Linked DNA regions of Homo sapiens: all the other regions are linked to region 7. The links are contacts of gene promoters, found by promoter capture Hi-C in blood cells and fetal thymus (Javierre and others, 2016). All regions are on one chromosome and are shown on one strand. Each heading gives the region's core, a stretch centred on a gene start or on the middle of the fragment in contact. The rest is flanking DNA. Distances are from core to core; before and after follow the strand shown.

Region 1 (2,885 bases), core at 22-2,521, 1.4 Mb before region 7:
CAATTTTATTATTTAAAAAAATCCATATCTGGTTGTTCTTTTTATTCTAAAAAATTTATGGTGCTGTATAGAGAAGAAATGCGTGCTTTCCAAGTCCAAGGACAGCTATGGATTGTACTTCCATAATTCCAACAGAGTCATTCATTACAATTGGATGAATAAATATTATCATATTTTCATCAACTTTTTTAGTGAACAAATAGAAACCAATGTTATACTTTAAAATACATCTTATTACAAATCCACACAGAGAAAAAGCTTAATTATATCAACACTAGAATTAAAACTGACACTAACAAAAGAAATTATGGTTTTGGGCCCTTAAAATTTCTGAATTAGTAGCCTTTCTTTTACCAAGAAGAGTTAGTGGGAACATAAGGGAGAACGAATTACATCTTAATGCCTTAGTTTCTCTATCAGTAAGTGCTCATTTCCATCGTCTTGGAGAGAAACAGTAATTAATTTTAAACAGAATTGCTATTTTCTGCTGGATTTATAACTTCAACATATATTCTTAGTAATAACCACCTCACATATATACAAGTGGCCCAGTCATCTATATACCCTCTTTTGTAACTATTATGAAATTAAATCTATCCATGCAAAGACTTGACTTTAATAAGCAGTAGCTATTGACCCACTAGACCATTTAAAAGACCTTAATGAACATATAATACACTCACACATATAGTCTGATAATTTATTTGCAATGATAGATGCAGAATATCACTGTGATTGAATATTGTTGACAGAATTCAGGCTTAGAAATAGGTAGTATGAGTAAGCCAAACAATTTTTTCTATGGTATCATTGCCATGAAACAGATTCACATATCAAGATTTGCTGGGCTGAGCACAATGGCTCACATCTGTCATCCCAGCACTTTGAGAGGCTGAGGTGGGAGGATCCCCAGAGGCCAGGAGTTCAAGACTAGCCTGGGCAACCAGTGAGACCCCTGTCTCTACCAAAAAAAATTAGCTGGGCGTGGTGGTATGCACCTGCAGTCCCAGCTACTGGGGTAGGGGTGAGGGGGCTAAGGAGGTGGGAGGATGGCTTGAGCTCAAAGTTTGAGGCTGCAGTGAGCCTTTAGCCTGTGACCCATCCAAGACCTTGTCTCAAAAAAAAAAGAAAAAAAAAAGATTTGCTGATAGTTCTGAGGCAAATTTGGGGGATTTGTACTGTTCTGTTGCTATGCTAATAAACTTTTACGAAGACAATGAGTAATTTCACGACACTATTTTAAAGTAGCCTTGCTACATCAGGCAAAATGCTGGGTCACAGAGGTGTTTTCTTCTTTCCTATTATCTTTTTCACCTTTCTATCAACTCTAGGAGTTTCAAATACCTTAATCAAATAGAATAATTAAAATCAAAATCTACATCTTAAATTATATTTCCAGTCACAACAATGTCAATGCTGTTTCCTTTTCCTCAGTGATCTGTTATTTTCTTGCCATAAAATCAACTTCTTCACTATGCTTGTTTATTACCTTAAAAAGAGTAGTTAGGGTAGAACTTCCTAAATATTGATTAACATAATTTGGTGGGATACTTACCCAACGTAGTCATCTGGATTGCTTTAACAAAAAACAAACAATAATATTCTAATAAGGCAATTATTAGAAACATTTATCACATGAAACATTTAGTGAGATATTTATAAAGAATTTTGAGAAAGACTAAAAAGGCAGTCAGTAAATTCAAAGTATTATTAAATATTATCAATATTTTAAAGCCAAGATATGGTTCCGTGAAATATAGGCTTTTCGAGATGTTGAGTTCTAGGTAAACTCTTATTATTATTATTATTTTGCGACAGGGCCTCACTCCCATTTCCCAGGTTAGAGTGCTGTGGCACAATCATGGCTCACTGCAGCCTCAACTTCCAGGGCTCAGGTGATCCTCCCACCTCAGCATCCCCAGCAGCTGGGACTACAGGCACATGTCACCACACCCAGCTAAAGTTTTGTATTTTTAGTAGAGATGGAGTTTTGCCATGGTGCCCAGGATGGTCTTGAACTCAAGGGATTCACCTGCCTCGGCCTCCCAAAGTGCAGGGATTATAGGCGTGGGCCACTGGGCCTGTAAACTCCTATTCTTAAATGAAGCAGCAGGTCCGACTATACTTACTGTGCCATACACCCTGCTGCTCAGACGACAACGCCACCACAGAAAACTGGCCCAGGACCTAACCTGCCCTTCCTCTTCCTTGGGTTTTTTCTGTTGGTAACTACTGTTCCCTTTTCTCTCCACACCTTTTACACTCTGGAATTGTTGTCCTAGACTCAAGCTTTTTGTATTCACGTTGGAGGAAACTGAATATCAAGGGATCTCTGTGATGGCAGCAATAAAGTTGAGCAGATTTTTAAAAATTTTCCTTCCTAAAAAGACTTTCTTCAAAAACGGTTTTGCATTGACTTTAAAAGGACAGAATATTTTTTCCTGAGAAAGAGCTGGGGCATGTTGTCTTGGAGGTCATATCAGCATCAAATAGCCTAGACTTTCTCCAGACATTAAAGGCTGCATAGGTCTGTGTAGAACCTCTGGCTGTCCATGGGAGATTCTTAGCGAACTGTCACTTGGAGAAAAGAATGATTATGATTGAAGGACATAAACGAGAAAGGAAGCTATGAACAAATAATTTTGGGGCAAGTGGAGAAAATGACGGCTTGATCTAGGAGCAGTATGGTTCCCACATTTAATTAGGATTCAAGAAAGAAACGATTTACATTTATCTTTCTTTTCCAAAGCCCCCTAATCTTATATCTCATTGCAGATGAGTAGGATGAATGATGAATGTGTGATATCAGCAGAGGTTTCGTCAACTGTGGGGCACAATATAACATTATTTCGAGTTAGGCAATTTTACTTCATACCAGGAATATT
Region 2 (3,352 bases), core at 431-2,930, 1.8 Mb before region 7:
GGACTTTGGGTTAATAGGAATACAGTTATTCTAGAATTGGTAATTGGTGCCTCACTTAGTCTTGAATAGGATGTCTAGTGCCATGGAGTAGTCACCTGAAATAGTTGATCTCAATTAAGATAATTCCAGGATGTCTGTCCACCACTCTGGTAGGCCTTCTAATAGCTTTTTGGCACTTAGAGAAATTGAAATAATAATGAATGTTCAAAGATTGCTCTCCAGAAGACCATTTTTGAAGGATGTACTTATAGATGAACTTCATAATCATGGTTCACTATAGCCTAGTTATTTTTAAGATCTACCCACCTACCAGTACCTGTACTTACGTATTCTGCCTTTCTGCCTGTTAACAATAGATGGTAACTGTCAGTGCTCCTGTTCGGTCATTTGTGCACCTGATTCTGTTGCCTCACTTACCTAAAGACATGGTTCCCGAAGCTTTCCCTCATTCTCCTGTCACAATGTATTCTTGAAAATTGCTAAGAGAGTGGATTTTAAGTGTTTTCACCATACCAAAAAAAAAAGTATGTGAGGTAATGCATGTTGTCTTAATTAGCTTGATTTAGCCATCCATGATATATACATGTTTTAAAACATGTTGTACATGATAAATATATACAGTTTTGTCAATTACAAATAAAAAAAAACTATCTTGGTAAATGTTCCAGGTGAACGTGAAAAATATGTATTCTGTTGTTATTGGCTGAAGTATGCTGTAGATGTCGGTTGGTAGTATTGTTATGGTGTTTTGTATTCTTGATTTTTTTCTGCCTCTTCATCAGTTATGGAGAGGGGTTTTGAAATCTTTGATAATTGTGGATTTGTCTGTTTTTCTTGTAGTTATGTCACTTTTTGCTTCATGTATTTTGAAGTGCTGTGATTAAGTATATGCACATTTAGGCTGTCATGTCTTCTTGATGGACCAACCCTTTTTTTTATACAAGATACCATCTTTATCCTTGGTAATATTCTTTGCTCTGAAACCTACTGCTGTGGTGTTAATGTCTCCCCCAAAATTCACATGTTGGAAACTTAATCTCCGATGCAACAGTATTGGGGCGGGAGGTGGAGGGTGTTTAGGTGATGAGGGCTCTCCCCTCATAACTGTATTAATACTGTTATAAAAGAGCTTGTGGCAGTGTGTTCTCTTTTTTCTACGTAAGAAGACAGCATTTGTCCCCCTTTTGCCATTTCTACCCCCAACCATGTGAGGATGCCACAAGAAGTCCCTCAACAGATGCTGGTGTCTTGATTTTGGACTTCTCAGTTTCCAGAACTGTGAAGAAATACATTTCTGTTTTCTATAAATTACCCAGTCTCAGGTATTTTGTTATAGTACCACACAATGGACTATGATACTTACTTTGTCTAATACTAATACAGACACTTCAGTTTTCTTTTGATTAGTGTCAGGTGGTATATCTTTTCCCATCCTGTTAATATTAACCTACTTGTGTATTTATATTTAAAGTGGATTTTTGGTAGACAGCATCTAATCTTTCATCTAATTTCACAATCTCTTTTGTTAATGGAATGTTTAGAACACTTAATGTGATTATTGATGTGGTTGGGTTTAAATTCGTGAGTTGCTATTTGTTTTCTGTTTATCTTAACTGTTCTGTGATTCCTTTTTTTCTGTTGTCTTTAGGATTAAAGGGGTATTTTTAAATTCCATTTTTTAATTTGATGACTTACTAGCAGTGCTCTTTGTTGTTGTTTTTTTTTTAAGTGGTTGCTTAAGGGTTTATGGTATACATGATAGAATTTCATGTGTAGTATAAGAACCTTAATATATTACCACTTTTTTCTGGGTTCTTGCTATCGTCATTATACATTTTACTTCTATACATGAGTCCTACAATACATTATTATTTTTGCTTTAACTTATATTTTAAAAATATATAAAATGTTTAAAAATTTTTTAAAAATTTGCTGACATATTTACCATTCCCAGTGTTCTTCATTTTGTGTGTGTGTGTGTGTGTGTGTGTGTATGCAGATTTTCATGTGGTACCATTTTTTTCACTCTGAAGAATTTCTTTTAACATTACTTACACTTAAAAATATACTGGTGATGAATTCTTTTCATTTTGTGTGTCTGAAAAAGTCTTTATTTGCTATAGTGTTTGAAGGATATTTTTGTTGGGTATAGAATTCTAAGCTGACATTTTTGTTGTTTCAGTACTTTAAAGATATTGCTTCATTGTCTTCTGGCTTGCATTGTTTCTGATGAGAAGGTTGCCATCATTCTTTGTTCAACTATATGTAGCGTGTCTTTTATTTTTCCTCTTTTGCCTACTTTTAAGAGTTTCACTAGGTTTTTAATTATTTAATTATTAAATTATGTTTCTTGTGCCCTTGTATTATGTTTCTTGTGCCTGGGGTTTGTTGAGCTTCTTGGATCTGTGAGTTTACAGTTTTTATTACATTTAAACATTTTTGGCTATTATTTCTTCACGTTAGTTTTTCTATGCTGCTTCTCCTCTCAGGAACTCAAAATACACTTACATTAGACCACATGAAATTGTTCTACAGTTCAGTGATGTTCTATTCATCATTCTCAGTCTTTTTGTGTGTGTGTGTGTTGTTTTAGATAGTTTTTACTGCTAGGTCTTTAATTCACCAATCCTTCTGCAGTATGTAATCCACTTTTAATATTACCCAGTTTATTTTTTATCTCAGGCGTTGCCTCCCACTCCTCCCCCTGCCCTTCTAGAAGTTTAATATAGGTCTTTAAAAAATTATGTATCATTTCTTTCCTTAACATCCTGTATTAGCCCGTTTTGACGCCCTGAGACTGAGTAACTTACAAAAGAAAGAGGCTTAATTGGACTTACAGTTCACATGGCTGGGGAAGCCTCACAACTGTGGCAGAAGGCAAGGAGAAGCAAGTCACATCTTATGGTGGCAGGCAAAAAATGAGAAAGCTTATGCAGGGGAACGCCTTTTTTTTTTTTTTTTGAGACAGAGTCTTACTCTGTCACCCAGGCTGGAGTGCAGTGGCGCAATCTCGGCTCACTGCAAGCTCCGCCTCTTGGGTTCACGCCATTCTCCTGCCTCAGCCTCCCGAGTAGCTGGGACTACAGGTGCCTGCCACCACGCCTGGCCAATATTTTGTATTTTTAGTAGAGATGGGGTTTCACTGTGTTAGCCAGGCTGGTCTTGATCTCCTGACCTCATGATCCACCCACCTTGGCCTCCCAAAGTGCTGGGATTACAGGTGTGAGCCACTTCGCCTGGCGGGAATGCCTCTTTTTAAAACCATCAGATATTTTGAGACTTATTCACTATCATGGGAACAGCATGGGAAAGACTTGCCCCCATGATTCAGTTACCTCCCACCAGGTCCCTC
Region 3 (3,387 bases), core at 288-2,787, 1.8 Mb before region 7:
GCAGGTTGAACTGTCCGAGAAGATCACAAGAGCTGCAAAGCAAGTTGCTAGAAAAGCCTAACTCTCTGCATGCCTCCGATGAAAACTCTGCCCCAAAAGCAGACACCTGAAAATAAAAAATGGGAAATAAAACACAATTCCATATTTATACTACAAAGCTTTCCAAAAAGAGAACACGGGGTTGTCAAAAACTAACACATTGAAGACAAGTTACTGAAATGTTTCATTTGGAGATAAATTCTTTTAAATTTTAATTTAATTTTATTTTTTTTTGAGACGGAGTCTTGCTGTCGCCAGGCTGGAGGGCAGTGGTGCAACCTCGGCTCACTGCAACCTCTGCCACCTGGGTTCAAGTGATTCTCCTGCCTCAGCCTCCCTAGTAGCTGGGATTACAGGCGCATGCCACCACGCCCAGCTAATTTTTGTATTTTTAATAGAGACGGGGGCCACGATGGTCTTGATCTCCTGACCTCGTGATCCGCCCACCTTGGCTTCCCAAAGTGTTGGGATTACAGGCATGAGCCACCTCGCCCAGCAATAAATTCTTTCTTAAACTCTGTAACCTTATGTAATAGTCTGGTTTCTCCCACCTCCCCTACAAGCTTTTTTTCTTAAACATCCATCATCTTTCAGCTTAGCTAAAATATGGATTAAGAAGAAAAGGCATATCATTGTTCATGATGTTTATCACATAAATATTTTCTTAAAGATTTATTGTTTTAAAAAGGAATTTTCTTATAAGAAAAAATAATTTTTGTTTCATTTTAAGAACTCAACATCTGTTCATATGGGTCTATGGAGTAAGATTAGCTGTAGGGTTTATCTACAGTCACATCCAGCAGAAGAAGGACGGGAAAGGGGATGGTGCAGGCAAGAGCACGCCAGAATTCAAACTTTTGGTTTTAGGTAATAGTGCCACCAGTTACAAGATTCGTGACCCTGGGCAAACTATCCTCCCTAAGCTTTAATTTCCTCACTCATAAATTAAGGGGCAATACTTCCTACATAAAACAGATTGCTATGGTTACCTTACATAAATCGTTACATTAAATCAGAGATGATTTAATCAATCAGAATGGCTGACAAAAGCAGGCTTTCAACAATATTCCCTTCCCTCATCCATTCTTTTTTACCTATCAGTGAATGTGGTATACCTCCATTTGTCTAAGGCCAATCCCTCTACTTCCTCTTTGGATTCTATCTTAACAGATACTTCATTTCATCAATACTTCAACCTTTAGCTATATTTAAGCCCTATGGTCCTAACTGCTCTTCCCACGTTCTGTCATTTCTGAATTGTTACTATAACTTGGTTTCTATTATCTTTATTTTTTCCTAACACCCCAAACTCATTAATATAGCCTGGTTTCTGCTCCTACTACTCCACAAAATTTGCCCAAAATTACCAAATGCAAAGGCATTCAAAACTGTTCTGCTTCAACTACCCCGTCCAAAGGCCTGTCCTCCTTTACTTTTCTCTTCTATGCATCTCTTAAATGCTATTGTTTCCCACAGTTCTGTTTTTGGCTCTCTCTTAGCTTTACATGCCTTCTATTTATTACTGCATATTTATCCATGGCTTCAGATATGCATTTATTGAAAACTCTCAAGTATTTTTCTTGAATGTCAGGCTTCCAAAGCCAACAGTCCACTCAATATCACATTTAGGTGTTGAATATGCATTGCAAGTTCAAAATCTGCAACACTGAAACTTATATTTTTCTTAAATCTATTCTTCCTAAGGTATTCAGTATCTTAGTAAAATGGCATCATTTCTCTGACAAGCTAGTTGCCCAGATCAGTCATCCTACTGACCTACACTCCATATTCTTCACCATTCTCACAACCAATTAATATATTTTTATAATTCTCTTAAAAAGCTCTCAAGTCTTTTCCTGCCTCAGTGGCTTAAATGCTCACTGCCAAGGCTACTTCTCATTACTTCCTCAATTCCTCCTGCTATAAGGAATTCCTATAGTATCTTGAAGTATAAAAGCCCTACTCAAACACACTTTTGCTCACAGTCTCCCCTATATTTAAGGTTCTGTTTCCACTTCTTCACCTTGTAACATCTTACTTATTTTCAAGAATCTAATCAGTATTAGTCTTTTAGGAAGCTTTCACTGACCAAAAAAATCAGATCTCAATCATTAGCCAGAGTACTTTTCTTCTCCGAGAAACTTGTGCACAGTTGTAAAACAGTACCGTTCGTGACACTGTACTATGTAAATCTGACTCCTCAACAATACTATGAACTCTTCTGAAGGCAAGCATTAAGTTGTTTCTCTGTCTTTCCCTCACTTGTGACAGTTTTCATATATCTGTTGGATAAATAAATCGCACAAAGCCATAGCGTCAGGTAGGGGAAATTTCAGATTGACTGCAACTGACTGATCTTCTAGACTAAGGGTATGCAAACTTTATGTGAAGGGCCAGATAATTTTGTTAGGCTTTTGTGGCCATATGGTTTCTGTACAACTATCTAACTCAGCCATGGCAGTGCAAAAACTAGTCACAGATAACACATGAATGAATGAATGTGTCTGTGTTCCAATGAAACTTTGCTTCATTTTGTTATGTTAATTTGTTCTACAAAAACTGGGTTGACTGAATTTGGCCCACCAGCTGCAGTGTGTCAATCCTTTTCTAAACTCACCAGGTAGATTAATATCCAGTGGCATTTCCCAATGAAAAGAAAATTTAAGTACTTGTTGGCATATTCACCCAAAATGCTGACGTGATATTTTATACATCTTTAATCTTATCTCTGTAATAATGTCATATGTATAATTTTTCAAAACAGATGAGACATCCCAGCCTAGTGGGAGGGAACTGTGACTTTATTGGTTAATTTGTGTGTTTGATCTCTCTAGTTTAACTATAAGACACTTGCTACCATACTAGTACTTTGGGTAATTTCTCCATCAGTAAAGTGATCTGCCTCATTTATTTCACAGGATAATTTGAAAATCAAATGTAACAATGAGCAGATTGTGTTTTCCAAAGACAAGACAATCAATATGTATCAAAGGCTGCATCAATGTGTACATATCATTTCACATGTTCTTACAATGTTAGTCCTCCACTGAGAAGTGGGGTCTATGTTCCCTCCCCTTGAATCTGGGCACGGGCCATGACTGTTCTGAACAACAGAGTTTAAAGGAAGTTATGTGATTCTGAGGGTAGGTCGTAAAAGAGCAAACAGCCTCTGCCTGGCTAGTATTCTTTCTTTCTAGGAACATCAACTTTGGAACTTAGCCAACCTGCTGTAAAGAAGTCTATACAAGAGAGACAACATGGAAGGGCCCATGTAGAGAGCAACTGAAAACTCCAGCTGACAACCAGTATCAGCTACTAGACATGTGAGTAAACCACCTTCAGATTTCA
Region 4 (3,318 bases), core at 354-2,853, 1.3 Mb after region 7:
CCTGGATCTTATGGAGGTCTGACATTCAAGGATATTTATCTAAAAATTCTTCTTTTGAGTGCCAGTAAAGGTGAGCATCATATAACTTTTTTCTTTTTAAACTCTTATAGGGATGGATCGTGACTATGGCCATGGATCCTATGGGGGTCAGAGATCCATGGATTCCTACCTAAACCAGTCATATGGCATGGACAATCACAGTGGTGGTGGTGGGGGTAGCAGGTAAATTGCTTAATCATTTGGCCAAATAATTAGACAACTATAAGATTTTGGATATATTATTTTAAGTACTCTTTAGGCATGTTATGATACTTGAACTTCACTGTTTGCTATTGAATCATCACCTTAAATATTTAAAGGTGTTAATTAATGGGTATAAAATTTAAATCAGTATTACTGGCAGACGTTATTTTAGGAAAACACCAGATAACTATATCATGTCAATATAATAGAGTAAGATACACTTTTTAGCAGTGAACTTTTAAAAAATTCTTTTACTTTTAACTTCTTGTCAATCAAAGTATCCTGAAAAATGATATAAAAATGTTATTGAAAATATTATTTATGAAGCTTTTTCTTAATAATTAAAAAAAATCTTTTCTAATGTGGGGTGCTATGTAAATTAGCAAAGCAGTCTAACTAGAATGGATTTTACTGAACCAGTCTAACATTTACTTTCCAAGAAACATTCAGGACATATTCCTTTAATTCTAATTTTAAAGGAAGAGCATATTGCAATAATAAAAATATTTTTAAAATTATGTTCAGGTTATTTATTGACAGGTACTACTTACACCAAAGCACTTGTGCTCTAGGCTAGAAGCATTGTATTAAAGCCATGAATACTATACCTTTGACTAGTCGAGATTGTATTTATATTTTCCTGTTACTACTGTATAAAGCTTAAACCTACTTAAACAACTACAAGCTTTAAGGTTGACCATATTTCAGGAGAAGGGGTGTCTACTTTTTGAGGCACAAAGGTTCCTGCTGAATATAAGTAAAACTAGTTAGTAGACATGTGAAACAGTCATCCTTCTGCATAAATTGAAGGATCCGGATTCCTTAATGATGGACTGAATGATGCTTACTTTCCTTCTTTCTGCTTCCAGTGTACCACTATGGTTTATAGTAAAGAAAAATTAAGAAAGTGAACAGTTGCAACTATTTTGCTTATGTGATAGATGTTTTGAAAAATGTAGTTGGAAATAGGAATAATTTTTATATGGTTACTAGGATTCAGAAGTAAATCTATTTAGTGATCTGTAAATAATTGAAGTAATGTAACACTTAATGTTTTAATATGTCAGTTATTGCCCTTTTATATTGTGAATGTAATGTGCATAAGCTATATCCGTAGATGTTATTGTTTTATCTCATGTGTAATTGTGGGCCTTTATAAAATTGTGTTGTAAGATATCAAGCAACTTTTGTAATCCATGCTTTGGGTTTGTGAGAAGGAAGATGATTTATTTCTTCTGTTAACTCTCTTAAAACCTCGAGGAGACTGTGTGCTCCCTTTTTTAGGGTAGTTTTATGTGATAATTTCCTGAAGGAAATAATTTTGCAAATAATTGAATATATTATAAGATGTATTCTTTCTCATCTGCCTTGAAAATTCATATGCAGAGGGTATATGTTGGTGATCTTTTATGTTTTATCTGTTTATCCTTCTAGATTTGTTAGATTTTCTAGTCTACAAGTAAAAAGTGATTGAGGATTGATTAATTGACCTTGGCTGAAGTTTGGCAGATTGTTAAATTTTTATAACCAGAGATAATTCCCCAAATTTTGACTCCTACAGACACAATGAAGCAGTTTGTGATATAGATTATTGGGAGTGCAAAAGGATCTCTCTGTGTCACAAATAACCTACATCTAAGTAGACTTCAATTTGTGTCCCTATTGAAAGCCAAAATATTGTAAATGTTTTGTAATTTTTAATATTAGGGATAGATTCAAAAAAGTTTGAATAGTTTGTGAACTTTAGCAAATGACCTTTTCCAAGACTAGGGCTGGGCTTAAATAATGACAGACAAATCTTTTCTTCTTCATAAAATAGAAAAGCTGCTAAGAAGCAGATTTTAAAGCTAAGTTTTACTAAACTCAATTCATATTTATAATCTGACTCAGATAGCTTTCTATCTGGTCTCACGTTGAACTGCCCAGCCCTAATCAAATGTGAACAAAAGTAGAACTGTGCAAACCAGTATGGTATAAATGAATTTTAGTTGATAAATGTCATCTGATAATTTGTCTTTTGAATTGTCTAACATTAGTAAGCTTACTTTTGTTTTTTCCCTCACTGTGCAACTTTTCCAGGTTTGGACCTTATGAGTCTTACGACTCCAGGTCTTCTCTGGGTGGGCGAGATCTGTACAGATCTGGCTATGGTTTTAATGAACCCGAACAAAGCCGCTTCGGAGGTAGTTATGGTGGTCGATTTGAGAGCTCCTACCGGAATAGCCTTGACTCTTTCGGAGGTAGAAACCAGGGCGGGTCTAGCTGGGAAGCACCTTACTCCCGTTCAAAATTGAGGCCTGGGTTTATGGAGGACAGAGGAAGAGAGAATTACTCTTCCTACAGCAGTTTTTCTTCACCCCATATGAAGCCTGCACCTGTAGGCTCTCGGGGGAGAGGAACGCCTGCTTATCCTGAAAGTACGTTTGGAAGCAGAAACTATGATGCTTTTGGAGGACCATCAACAGGCAGAGGCCGAGGCCGAGGAGTAAGTACAACAGAATCTTTTCAGATTCTTTTCACTAGTCACTCTTTTAAACCCTTTCAAGACCATCGTTTTCAACTAGAATAAACACTGTTCATCCCGGTGTATTTTGAAGCAAAAGCTGAGTCATAAACATAATTTTTAGGTTGACTGTAAAAGTTTTTCTAGCACCTCAGAAAATAAGTGGCAGTTTGAGATGATCATAAAGTTGTGCCAAATCTCCCTTTATTAAAAAGGTGAGGCTACTGGTTTGGTCTAAAAGGGGTTAAAAGGAGTTGCATTTTCCTTGTAAACACTAGCAGTTTTGCTGGTGGAATAGTTTGTGGATTATTGTGAAAGGTCACTGAACCCTTTTTGAGTTTTTGAGTAGGTTAAAGGTGCAATGTATGATAAAATGTTTATACTTTGTGGCTAAACTCTAGCAAGTAGAATTTCTTCAAAGCTCCATGTTTCACATTAAACACAGGAGACTAAAAGTTGATGATAGATCAGGATAGCTTAGCCATGTTTATGTGGTGAAGAAGTTGATGTGTATAATAGATTGTACAATGATTTGTGGTCAGTGTAATTTTGCTAACTCACGCTTACAATAT
Region 5 (3,121 bases), core at 203-2,702, 1.3 Mb before region 7:
GCAAGCATTTCATTATCAAGAGAGAGAGAAGGTTAGGATGAAAGAGATGAGCAGAGGCAAATCTTAAGTGTTGACACCATGATTGAAAAGGTTAACCCATACACATTATATATCAACCTGGATAGCAGAGAGTTTCTAATGGAAAGTCTGCACTGATGGAGGTTTACGGGAGTTTCAATACACTGAGCATGATGTCTTCTTAGATATACAATCAAATCCTCTTAACCCTTTTGATGACTCATATCTGAAGATATGATTAAAGTACAAAAGAGTTCTTCATATAATTTCAAGGACACAATGCATTTAAACTCCAGTCATGAATTGTATCTTTTTTTTTTTTATGATGAACCTAGTAATCTGATAAAATGTGTGTAGAACAGAATTGTATTTGCTAGAGGTGTAAGTCAATATTTTGATTAAATCTGGGGCATCCTCTGCGGTAGGCAGAAGTTTGTTGTCCCACAAAAAGGATTTTTCCCAGATTATGTAAATCACTCAGAAAATCTGAGGCTTGAGCCTAAGAATTCAGCCTGTCAAATGCATTCCAAAGGGATGCCCAGAGTCTGGGGGTGTTTTTCTTTCTTTTTCTTTGGTTTAGGATTATTCACTGGTGTCAACCGTTATTCTTTGTTTCAGGTTATTTGGAAATAGCGGTGCTTGCAGCGCTTGCGGACAGTCGATTCCTGCGAGTGAACTCGTCATGAGGGCGCAAGGCAATGTGTATCATCTTAAGGTAGTATTTGCATCTCTCTTTTTTTTTTAAAAAAAAAATCATACCTTTCCTACCTACATGGGGGCAAAGCATTTCTCCTTGGTATGAACTGTTTTCTCAAGCTGCAGACACTTGAAGGAATGATTGAAATTGTAGCATGGCAGTGATGGTTACACATCCACATGCACAGACCACGCTTCCCCTATGCCACAGACAGAAGTACACATGTATTTGGATTTGTCCCCATTTAGCCTGGTCCAGTTGATAGCAATTTGGCTTACTGTTTTCTGGAGATCTGTCAAAGGAAGAAAAAACGCTAAACCCTAAGTGTCTCTGTACTTGACAGATACCTGCTTAATAACAGGTTATAAACTTGTGACCAAAAAAAGACTTAATTTTTACCTTGTTTTCAGTGGGTTTGTTTTTCCCTTTCAGTGTTTTACATGCTCTACCTGCCGGAATCGCCTGGTCCCGGGAGATCGGTTTCACTACATCAATGGCAGTTTATTTTGTGAACATGATAGACCTACAGCTCTCATCAATGGCCATTTGAATTCACTTCAGAGCAATCCACTACTGCCAGACCAGAAGGTGAATACCCAGCAATTACTAATAAGCTTTATTAGAGCAAGTTGGAAGGTTCAACCTCTTAACCTAGCAAGAGAGTTTTCTTGGGTGGTTGTATTTTTGCATGCCCTTTTAAAGAAATGTAGATTACTAGTTGTACATAGAGTGTTCAGAAGTAGGATAGCTGATTAAATTGTGAATCCTTTCTAGTTAAAAAAAAAATCCTGACTTTGTTATATCTGTAGCTTCACTCACGTTGAACATAAGATTATCACATGCAAAAGCAAACAAAATGTAAAGCTTCCATATAACTGGTTATTTATTCCATTTGACAATTTTGAAATTCAGAAACATGATGTGATAGGTTATTGTGGAAGAAAAATTAGAACATTTATGGTAGGAAAAGAGAATAAAGATCTTTGTTATGAAAGAATGATTTCTGCGTTAGGAATAGCAATCTGGACACCTGCCTTCCAAACCCAATTTACAATTCATTTACTTTTTAGAAGAGTAATTTTACAAAACATTCTGTAACTTCATAAGAGGGCATTTTTGTTCATTGGCGGTACCATAACATTTGAATAAGTTATGGCTTTTAAAACCAAGTTCTTGTTCTTGCTAACCCGCTTAGTGCCATTAATAGTGCCATTAGAAATTATGTATCTTGATTCTTGATCCACAACTTGAAAATCCTTGTACCAGAATTAAAAATTAGGAAATTATACAAGTATACAAATCATGTAGTATTAGAAGATATTCCAGAGGGAAAATTGGTGATCAACAGTTGTCCAGCACCCCCAGTACTGGATAGTTTTAGATCTATTTTAATCTCCTTAATAAGTCCTATAGCTATGCAAGTGAGTGCATTTTGATAACTGCTGTGCCTAATTTGTAACAATTACTGTCAACCTTCAGTTAAGAGACTGTTCATTCCACACCGGCCCAGAAAAGAGTGAAATGTATGACTCGTGTGCATAATTTTATTCACATCATATTTCATACTGATTATGTATTGATGACATTGATTCATTTACTCTTTACAGCGCCACTTGCATGGATATTAAATCTTATTGACCACAGATGAATTTTAATTTCAGATTGGTGATAGATTTTTCCATCAGCTCTGATAGTATGTTTGACTTTTTCATCATTAACCCAGGCAATCACACAGCACTGAGTTATTGCATTGAAACAAAAAGTGCACACTTCACTTGGTAATTCTTTATGGATTTACAATAGGAACTTCATTAATGTCTGTTGTAAGGATCACAAAAAAAACAACATTTATCTGCAAATAGGAATTTAGCAAGCTTCAAAAATCTCGGGGAAAAAAATAGACTTTTTTGTCTTCTGTAATGCATTTTCTTAGTGCGGTGGTGGAGGTGGGGGTTTGACAAATATTTGAAAACTTTTAACCATTAAAATTATGCTGCCATATTTTGATGCTTATATTTGCCCTTTTCCCTTGCTCAAGTTTATGAGGTAATTTTAAATGTATGTTCTGTTTCTTAGTGTTAATTACATGACATTATGTGCACTTTAATTTACTAATATGGGGAGCTACATAGAATAACCATTTTAAGAATAAAAGTTGAACTTTTTAATTGCAAACTAACCAGTCACTGCTGATGAGGTATTTCAAGCTTCTTCAAGGAGTGCCAAGACATATAAATGCTTAAAGATTTTTGTGATTTGGATTCTAATGAAGTGAATCTGCAGGGCAGAGTTGAGAACAATGAATGAGCAACATAAATATTTGGAGATACCTATTCAGAATAGAGGTAAAGCTGTTTGTAGTTACACTTGGTAGCAAAAAAGAAAAAATATGCTAGAAATAAAATG
Region 6 (3,188 bases), core at 609-3,108, 1.1 Mb after region 7:
ATTTAAAACCCAGGGAAGATCAAAAGAACAAAGTACAGAAGATTGGTTTTTTTGGTTTTTTGGTTTTGAGATGGAGTCTCACTCTGTCGCCCAGGCTGGAGTGTGGTGGCACCATCTCAGCTCACTGCAACCTCCGCCTCCCAGGTTCAAGCGATTCTCCTGCCTCAGGCTCCTGAGTAGCTTGGATTACAGGTGCGTGCCAACATGCCCAGATAATTTTTGTGTCTTTAGTAGAGACGGGTTTTCACCATGTTGGTCAGGCTGGTCTCTAACTCCTGACCTCGTGATCCTCTTGCCTCGGCCTCCCAAGGTACCGGGACTACAGGCGTGAGCCACTGCACCCGGCCTATAATTTTTTTTTTTTTTTACAAACAGCAAAACATTCCATATTCATTATAATAGTGGGCTGTTTTCAATAAAAATATCACACCACTAGTTGTTAAGTTTTAAAAGACCTCTCATCTCTTAGATCAGCAAATCTGACACTGATTAGATCACTTACACACACTCCCTGCCCATACACCTCCTTCTTGGCAGTGTGTGGAACAGGAGTGGCTGCTGGCAAGGAGGGTCGGGGAAGGAAAGTGAGAGCAAAAGGGCCGAGGGCTCAGAATCTGGTGGCATCTTGTAACGGGTCTCGGGCAGTCCCTTGAGTGTATTCTGGACCTCTCTGTTCATGTTCCTGTTTGGGCTGCTCTTCTTCACGTCCAATGCCTGAGGGCCAAGTGCTCACCATCCAAGGGTCAATTCTATCAGCTCCTCTCTGAATCCTTTTCTGAAACCCTGGACAATCATTCTCTTTAATGTCTCACTGTCTCTGAACCGACACCTTCCTGAGTACCTGTAACATTTGTGCAGCATGCTTATTAAGAATATTTAGATGCTGGGTAAACGTTGATTGAACATTTGCTGACATGGAGAGATATTGGTAGAAGACAGATTAGACTTCCGATGGTTTACAGAAACACATGGATTCAGATAAAAGAAGATATGAAAGCACTGGGTTGAACCACATATTTTATTACAACCAAATAACTCCAAATATCCCGCCTTAATTTATTTATTGGCCCCTGCCTCTGCTCACCCACAAAAAAGACTGCAAATGAACCCCGATCCTACAACAACAACAACAAAAAACGGTGACATTATCGGGCTGCAAAACCCTCTTAGCATAGAATAATCTTTTCATCTGCCTCTTTCAGATGTAACATATTTTTGACGAAAAGAATGGGATGAAAACGGCGGGCTCAGATAAAAACAAGAACCGACTTTCCAATACAGCTTCAATAACAGACGGAACACATGAAGCTGAGAAACTCTCCATGCCAAGTAGTAGTTGTGTGTGCCCCAAAGCTCAGATAAGTACTTCTCCTTAGAGTTGGAAGGCACTTAAGTGACTTTTTAACGTAATTCAACTCCCCACCCCCAGCGCCAAGTCTTAATATCAGAGTTTTAGTCGACGGGACAGCCTCCTTCGCCCAGGACGGGTGAAGGCTCCTGACCATGCCTCGCAGCTAACTGGCAGCTGCGCCTGCCCGGCACCGAGCCCTGCCCAGGTGGACGCTTGCGAGAGCATTACGGCGATGGTTATGTAGGCTGCCGTTCTTCCCCTCCCAAGCACCTGCTCCGCATCTAGCAGTCGCTCGCCGCCAGTCTCCAACCCCGGGTCCCCTCCCTCGCCACACAGACCCCGTCCGGTCAGGCGCTGCAGGGCCACCGGAGAAAGCGCTCGCAATCACATGGAGGCCCGGGCCCGCCCCATTGGCTGCGGCCGGGCCAGTCGCGGCACTCGCCGGCTGCGGTTGGTCCCAGAGCTGCAGCGCCTGCACGGGCCCGGAGTCCATGTTACGCTTTGTCTAATTCCCCTCGTTACAGAGTCATGTGCTGCTGCTCCCGTCGCCGCTGCTGCCGCTGCCGCTGCCGCCGCCCGTGGTGCCCCGGCTCCTCCGCCGCGCTTCGAGGTGGCAGCCGCGGGCGGGGCCGCGGGAGCAGGGTCCAGGGTGCAGCGCGCCTTCGCCGCCCCGGCGCGTCCCGGTGCAGCCGCCGCCCGCCGCGGGTGATGCCGCCACCTCCGGCCTCAGCATAAGCCGTGGCTTGGCGGCCGAGCTGCACCCCAAGGTTGGTGCGCACCTCTCCCGGCAGGGGCCGGGGGCTGCGAGGGAAGGCGACGCGCAGGTGGAGCCGCGCCGAGCCGGAGCGCGCAACCCTGGCGCAGGCGCCGCGGCCCGAGCTGCGGTTGCGGCCGGGAACTCATTCGGGGACGTCCGGGGGTCGGGAGGAGGTGGCGGCGAGCGGAGTGGGCTCCCGTTTGCTGCCGCCAGGGCCTGGGAGATTGTTCCGCTTTCTGCAGTCTGAGCGTCGGCCGCTTCGGCCCCGGGCGGCCGGCCCTGCGGGAGGGGAGTGCGGCTTCCTGGCTCCTGAACCCCTCGCGCGCGCTCCCTTCTCTCACCTCCCTCCGCCCTATCGGAAAGGCGGGGAGAGCCGGTTTCGGCTCTGCTGGTTCCTCCCGGAGGTGGGTGTTTGGTGTCTGGCCTTGCTGGCCCGGCGTCCAAAGGTGAGCCCTTTAACTTCTCCAGAATCGCCTCCCCTCCGCTTCCTTCCTGTGCAGGGTGGGCTGCGCTGGGAGCCCGGCGGGCGGGGGCGGGGAGGTGAAGGCCCGCGCCCCGCCCCCCGCGCCTGTGGGAGGGAGCTGGGGGCCCGCAGGTGCACCCAGCCGTCCGCGGGCCGTCTCCGGGTTGGGTACCGGTATAATCCGCTTCTAGCTTGTTTGGAGGCGTGGGCTCTTGGGAGCGGGACTTCTGCTCAAATCCTGTCCAGGGGCTTGAAAAGGAGGAGAATTGGGGGTGGTTGCCGGGAGGACCAGCACCTCCAGTTACTGGAGGGTTGATAGGGGCCTTCTCCTTTCCGTCACCCTTTACTAGGGGGTATCCCTTGCAGATAAATGAGATTTTTTGATTTCTTAAAAAGCCAGCTGCAGTGAAGAAGAACTGCTGCAGGTCGAGGGGAAGAGAGGTAGGTCCTTGCTGGAGAGGGAGAGGTGGGCTGTGAGGTTCCAGGAGCACGCACTTGGGGTGTGTGTGGCCGAAAGTATGGAGGTAGGGTTGTGGGAAGGAAACAGCCGAGATGAGAGGGAGGGCGCACTCAGGATGTAGGCGGAGAGATGGGGAATAGGTACTGGGGAGTCCTAG
Region 7 (3,354 bases), core at 559-3,058:
ACATAAGTTGGCTTCCCCAAAGAATTCTCCAGTCACCCCAAGGATAAGTACCTTTTTTTTTTTTTTTTTGAGGCAGTGTCTCACTCTTACTGCAACCTCTACCTCCTGGGTTCAAGCAATTCCCCTGCCTCAGCCTCCCGAGTAGCTGGGATTACAGGCGCACACCACCACGCCCAGCTAGTTTTTGTATTCTTAGTAGAGACAGTTTCACCAAGTTGGCCAGGCTGGTCTCGAACTCCCGACCTCAGATGATCGGCCAGCCTTGGCCTTCCAAAGTGCTGGGATTAAAGGCGTGAACCACTGCGCCTGGCCGGATAAGAACTCCTAATCCTTTCTGTAACTCCAAAGCCTAGGAAACCATCTGGCTTTTAGTTACCAGTAAAGGTAATCATATCCCGGCCTTTCCAAGTGTTCTTTCATGTATTTAATTATCATCTTCAACCAAGGCAATATACTAGACACATAAATAGTTGTAAGACTTGTGAAGTACACACCAGAAAAATTCTTTATCACACATATGATAAGTTAGAGTTCAGAAACTGTGGCCACAGAACTCCAGATCTTCAATACATGTTTGCTGAATTGATGTATGAGACTTGAGAAGGCAAAAGGATAGACGTTAAGTCCTGGCATCAGGCCAACAGAGTTACATGGAGCGTGTGAGAAGTACATAATGTTACACTTCCTAAGAAATATGTCAACGAATGCCCTTTCTAAGTAGCAACGTACCTAAATAACCCTTACCACTCTCTCCAGGTAGTTTTAACAAAGGTATTGTACCGCAGCTTCAAAAAATCAAAAGTTACGCGTTTACCTATCCATTCACTGCTCAGACAAAACAAAAACAAAAGCTACCTGTAGGAGACTTCGAAATTCCTTAATACCATAGTGTCATTAAAAACAAACACCTAGATTTACTTTACTTAGCTATATTTTACTAAGTAGTCAGGTTAGCTTTAATGCTTACCACGCCAAGGAAAGGTGGCTTTTTTCCTTTCCCGAGGGTAATCCCGTCCCACCTCCCCCTCCCTTAAATAAAGTTAAAACAACCCAAAAAAACCCAGCTAATTCTCAGCTCTGTACAGTTCTCCAGTACAAGCAACAGTAGTTCAACCTCAAGAAAAAGACATCTTAAAGGCCGTACATTAAAAGTTGCCAGGGATCCAGCCGCTTACATTTCATGAAAAGTACAGACCATACCCGTTTAGCTAGCTGTGCACCTTAACTGGTCGAGAAGGCGCGCTGGGGGCTGGGTTTGAGGGTGAGCAAAAGGCAAGATTATTAGTTTGGGTTGACGTGGGGGTCAAGGGGAGAGCAGAGGAATAATCTGTAAGATCTGAGTCCCGAAGCTCTTTGGGTTATGGAGGTTAGAAAAGGGCCTGTTAAAGTTAGGCCCAAGTTTCGGCAAGGTGGAACTGGGAAAAAAAAAAAAGAAAGAAAAAAAAAACGAAACCCGAAAAAACAACAGCGAGCAGGCTCCCGAGTTCTAGCGTTCACAGTGAAGCCGTTAAACGCAGCAGGAAAGTAGGCGTGTGTTTTCTTCCTCTTCCCGCCTCCCCAGAGACTCGAGCCCAGTCCTTTCCCCTCATTTTCACCCCAGCCGAGTCCAATGGCTGCCCTCGCCGCGGAGTCGGGTCGGAAGACGCCCCGCCCCCTCGCCGCGTTCGCCCTAGGGAACCCCTCCGCCCCACCTTCCCTGCCCGATGAGGGGCAGTGGCTGCCGCCGTCACGTGTGCTGGCAGCCGCCAAGTGAGGCCGCTTTTGCGACGCGGTGACAGCCAAATGGTGCGACAGGAGGAGCTGCAGCCGCGGCCGCAGCGCCCGCACGGAGAGGCTTGAGGCGGCTCCTGGCGTCGCCCAGAGGGAGCGACTAGACGAACAGTCCGGTGAGGGCGGCGAGAGGAAGCCCGCTACGAGTGCCCTAGCTCCCCGCCGCTCTCGATGAACCGGACGGAATAAGCCGCGCCTCCAGCAGGGGCTGCGCCTCCATGAATCCCTAGTTGTTTTTTTTTTTTTCTTTCTCTCCCCTCTCCTCACCCCCACCCCGAGCCCCGTCCCGCCTTCTCCCTTCGCCAGAGGCGGCCGCGTCCAGGTGCGGAGTCCATACCGGAGCGCAATGGCGTCCAACCCCGAACGGGGGGAGATTCTGCTCACGGAACTGCAGGTAAGGGCCGCGGCCCTGGTGAGAGGCGCTGGCGGAGGAGACAGGGAGAGAGCCCCGCGCGGCGTCGGGGACCGAGGAAAGCCCTGCGGCCGCCGCGCCCCTAGCCCGCTAAGTGCGGAAACTCCGGGATGTCACTCGGGAAATGCTTCCCTCGGGGAACCGCTTCCCTGGGGAGCCGGACCCTCTCCCCCGCCAAAGCCCTGGCCTGCCACCGCTTTGGTTTGATTCTGCCTACCAGAGGGGACCCCATCTCTGCAGCCCTGCTGCAGCGGGAGCCTGCTCTCGCCTGGTCCCCGGAGAGGCCGGCCCGTCGCCCCCTCCCTCGGTGTCAGAGCTACCCGCGAACGCCCCTGTTGCCCCCTCCCTTCGCGCGGCCGGGCCCCGCCCCGCCTTTCCTCCGTACACCGCTCCTTAAACTCCTTTGAATGACTCCCAAGCTGTTTTCTTGTCCCTCCCCCTCCCCTCAGACTCCGCACAAAGAGCGCCCCCATAACTTCCAGCCCCTAGACAAGTTTTTTTAAAAAACGAGTCTCACCAAATGTTTGCTTCACTTCAGCAGCCCTCTTCAGGTGACAGAGTTTCTTTCCTCTATTTTGAGGGTTATCTTTTTCTTTTCTTTTCCTTTCTTTTTTTTTTTTTAACCGAGTGATAAATACAGGGTGCCTTTCTCTGCTACCCCTGCCCAGATCCGGGAGCTCAGATGCTGATGCTTTTCAGACTTTCATTTTCCCTCTCATTTGAGCACCAGAGAAAGAGCTAATAAGTTGTTTACTAATGAGAAAGCAGTCGACTAAGGGAAAACATTGGGCACCACATGTCTGCAAAAGATGAGAGCAAAGTAGATCGCTTAGTTAAGTCATGTCGAGTAGCAATGTTATTTCCCATTTCCAGATAAATATTTGATAATGTAGGCACGATTTTCTTTAGATCTCTATGGTGTACATGGGGACTTAAGCTACCCTGTCGGGTTTTTCATTACTTGGGAGTGTTCCAGAGATGTTTGTTTTTTGACTTAAAAGTTATTTTGCTTTATTTTAATATAGTTATCTTTTAGCTACTCAAAGATTGTAGATGGGAATTAGGAGAAAAAAATAGCATGCCTGCATTTCTTTTTGTGTGTTGGACAGTTAATTTTTTTTAAAAAAAAGACTAAATCAAGAAATTCTGAAGAGTTGATGTCAAAATTAAGT

The links. Contacts are between HindIII fragments. The CHiCAGO score rates a contact against its expected background, and 5 or more counts as called.
Region 1: a fragment that was not itself captured here is called in contact with the fragment with the promoter of PKN2 in region 7 in 1 of 17 cell types (total CD8 T cells); the score reaches 11.8 in total CD8 T cells.
Region 2: a fragment that was not itself captured here is called in contact with the fragment with the promoter of PKN2 in region 7 in 1 of 17 cell types (non-activated CD4 T cells); the score reaches 8.9 in non-activated CD4 T cells.
Region 3: a contact is called between a fragment that was not itself captured here and the fragment with the promoter of PKN2 in region 7, in 1 of 17 cell types (activated CD4 T cells). The highest score is 6.3, in activated CD4 T cells.
Region 4: a fragment that was not itself captured here is called in contact with the fragment with the promoter of PKN2 in region 7 in 1 of 17 cell types (activated CD4 T cells); the score reaches 5.7 in activated CD4 T cells.
Region 5: a fragment that was not itself captured here is called in contact with the fragment with the promoter of PKN2 in region 7 in 2 of 17 cell types (total CD4 T cells and non-activated CD4 T cells); the score reaches 7.8 in total CD4 T cells.
Region 6: a contact is called between the fragment with the promoter of LRRC8D here and the fragment with the promoter of PKN2 in region 7, in 1 of 17 cell types (neutrophils). The highest score is 6.8, in neutrophils.

Annotation. Positions count from the first base shown.
Region 1 is chr1:87,323,052-87,325,936 of GRCh38, forward strand. No RefSeq gene overlaps it. Among named protein-coding and RNA genes, the nearest start is that of LMO4, 4.4 kb to the right of the region's middle. The HindIII fragment of the contact is 2,031 bases long and covers 257-2,287 here.
Region 2 is chr1:86,920,454-86,923,805 of GRCh38, forward strand. The region is part of intron 1 of HS2ST1 (heparan sulfate 2-O-sulfotransferase 1); the gene reads left to right. Among named protein-coding and RNA genes, the nearest start is that of HS2ST1, 7.5 kb to the left of the region's middle. RefSeq lists a silencer at 3,067-3,245. The HindIII fragment of the contact is 2,489 bases long and covers 437-2,925 here.
Region 3 is chr1:86,903,343-86,906,729 of GRCh38, forward strand. SELENOF (selenoprotein F) reads right to left here. Exons shown (of 5, transcript NM_004261.5): 2 at 1-106. Among named protein-coding and RNA genes, the nearest start is that of SELENOF, 9.1 kb to the right of the region's middle. The HindIII fragment of the contact is 1,155 bases long and covers 961-2,115 here.
Region 4 is chr1:90,005,023-90,008,340 of GRCh38, forward strand. It overlaps ZNF326 (zinc finger protein 326), which reads left to right. Exons shown (of 12, transcript NM_182976.4): 3 at 1-16; 4 at 111-222; 5 at 2,323-2,728. Among named protein-coding and RNA genes, the nearest start is that of ZNF326, 12 kb to the left of the region's middle. The HindIII fragment of the contact is 1,355 bases long and covers 927-2,281 here.
Region 5 is chr1:87,338,900-87,342,020 of GRCh38, forward strand. It overlaps LMO4 (LIM domain only 4), which reads left to right. Exons shown (of 5, transcript NM_006769.4): 3 at 637-733; 4 at 1,148-1,303. Among named protein-coding and RNA genes, the nearest start is that of LMO4, 12 kb to the left of the region's middle. The HindIII fragment of the contact is 250 bases long and covers 1,328-1,577 here.
Region 6 is chr1:89,819,174-89,822,361 of GRCh38, forward strand. It overlaps LRRC8D (leucine rich repeat containing 8 VRAC subunit D), which reads left to right and starts at 1,859. Exons shown (of 3, transcript NM_001134479.2): 1 at 1,859-2,118. It overlaps LRRC8D-DT (LRRC8D divergent transcript), which reads right to left and starts at 2,621. Exons shown (of 1, transcript NR_185885.1): 1 at 1,001-2,621. RefSeq lists silencers at 1,388-1,447, 1,888-2,237, 2,338-2,437, 2,528-2,737, 2,609-2,828. The HindIII fragment of the contact is 10,555 bases long and covers 1-3,188 here.
Region 7 is chr1:88,682,465-88,685,818 of GRCh38, forward strand. It overlaps PKN2 (protein kinase N2), which reads left to right and starts at 1,809. Exons shown (of 22, transcript NM_006256.4): 1 at 1,809-2,164. The coding sequence starts at 2,117. It overlaps PKN2-AS1 (PKN2 antisense RNA 1), which reads right to left and starts at 2,740. Exons shown (of 4, transcript NR_110682.1): 1 at 2,700-2,740. RefSeq lists enhancers at 1,644-1,973, 2,004-2,083. The HindIII fragment of the contact is 6,383 bases long and covers 1-3,354 here.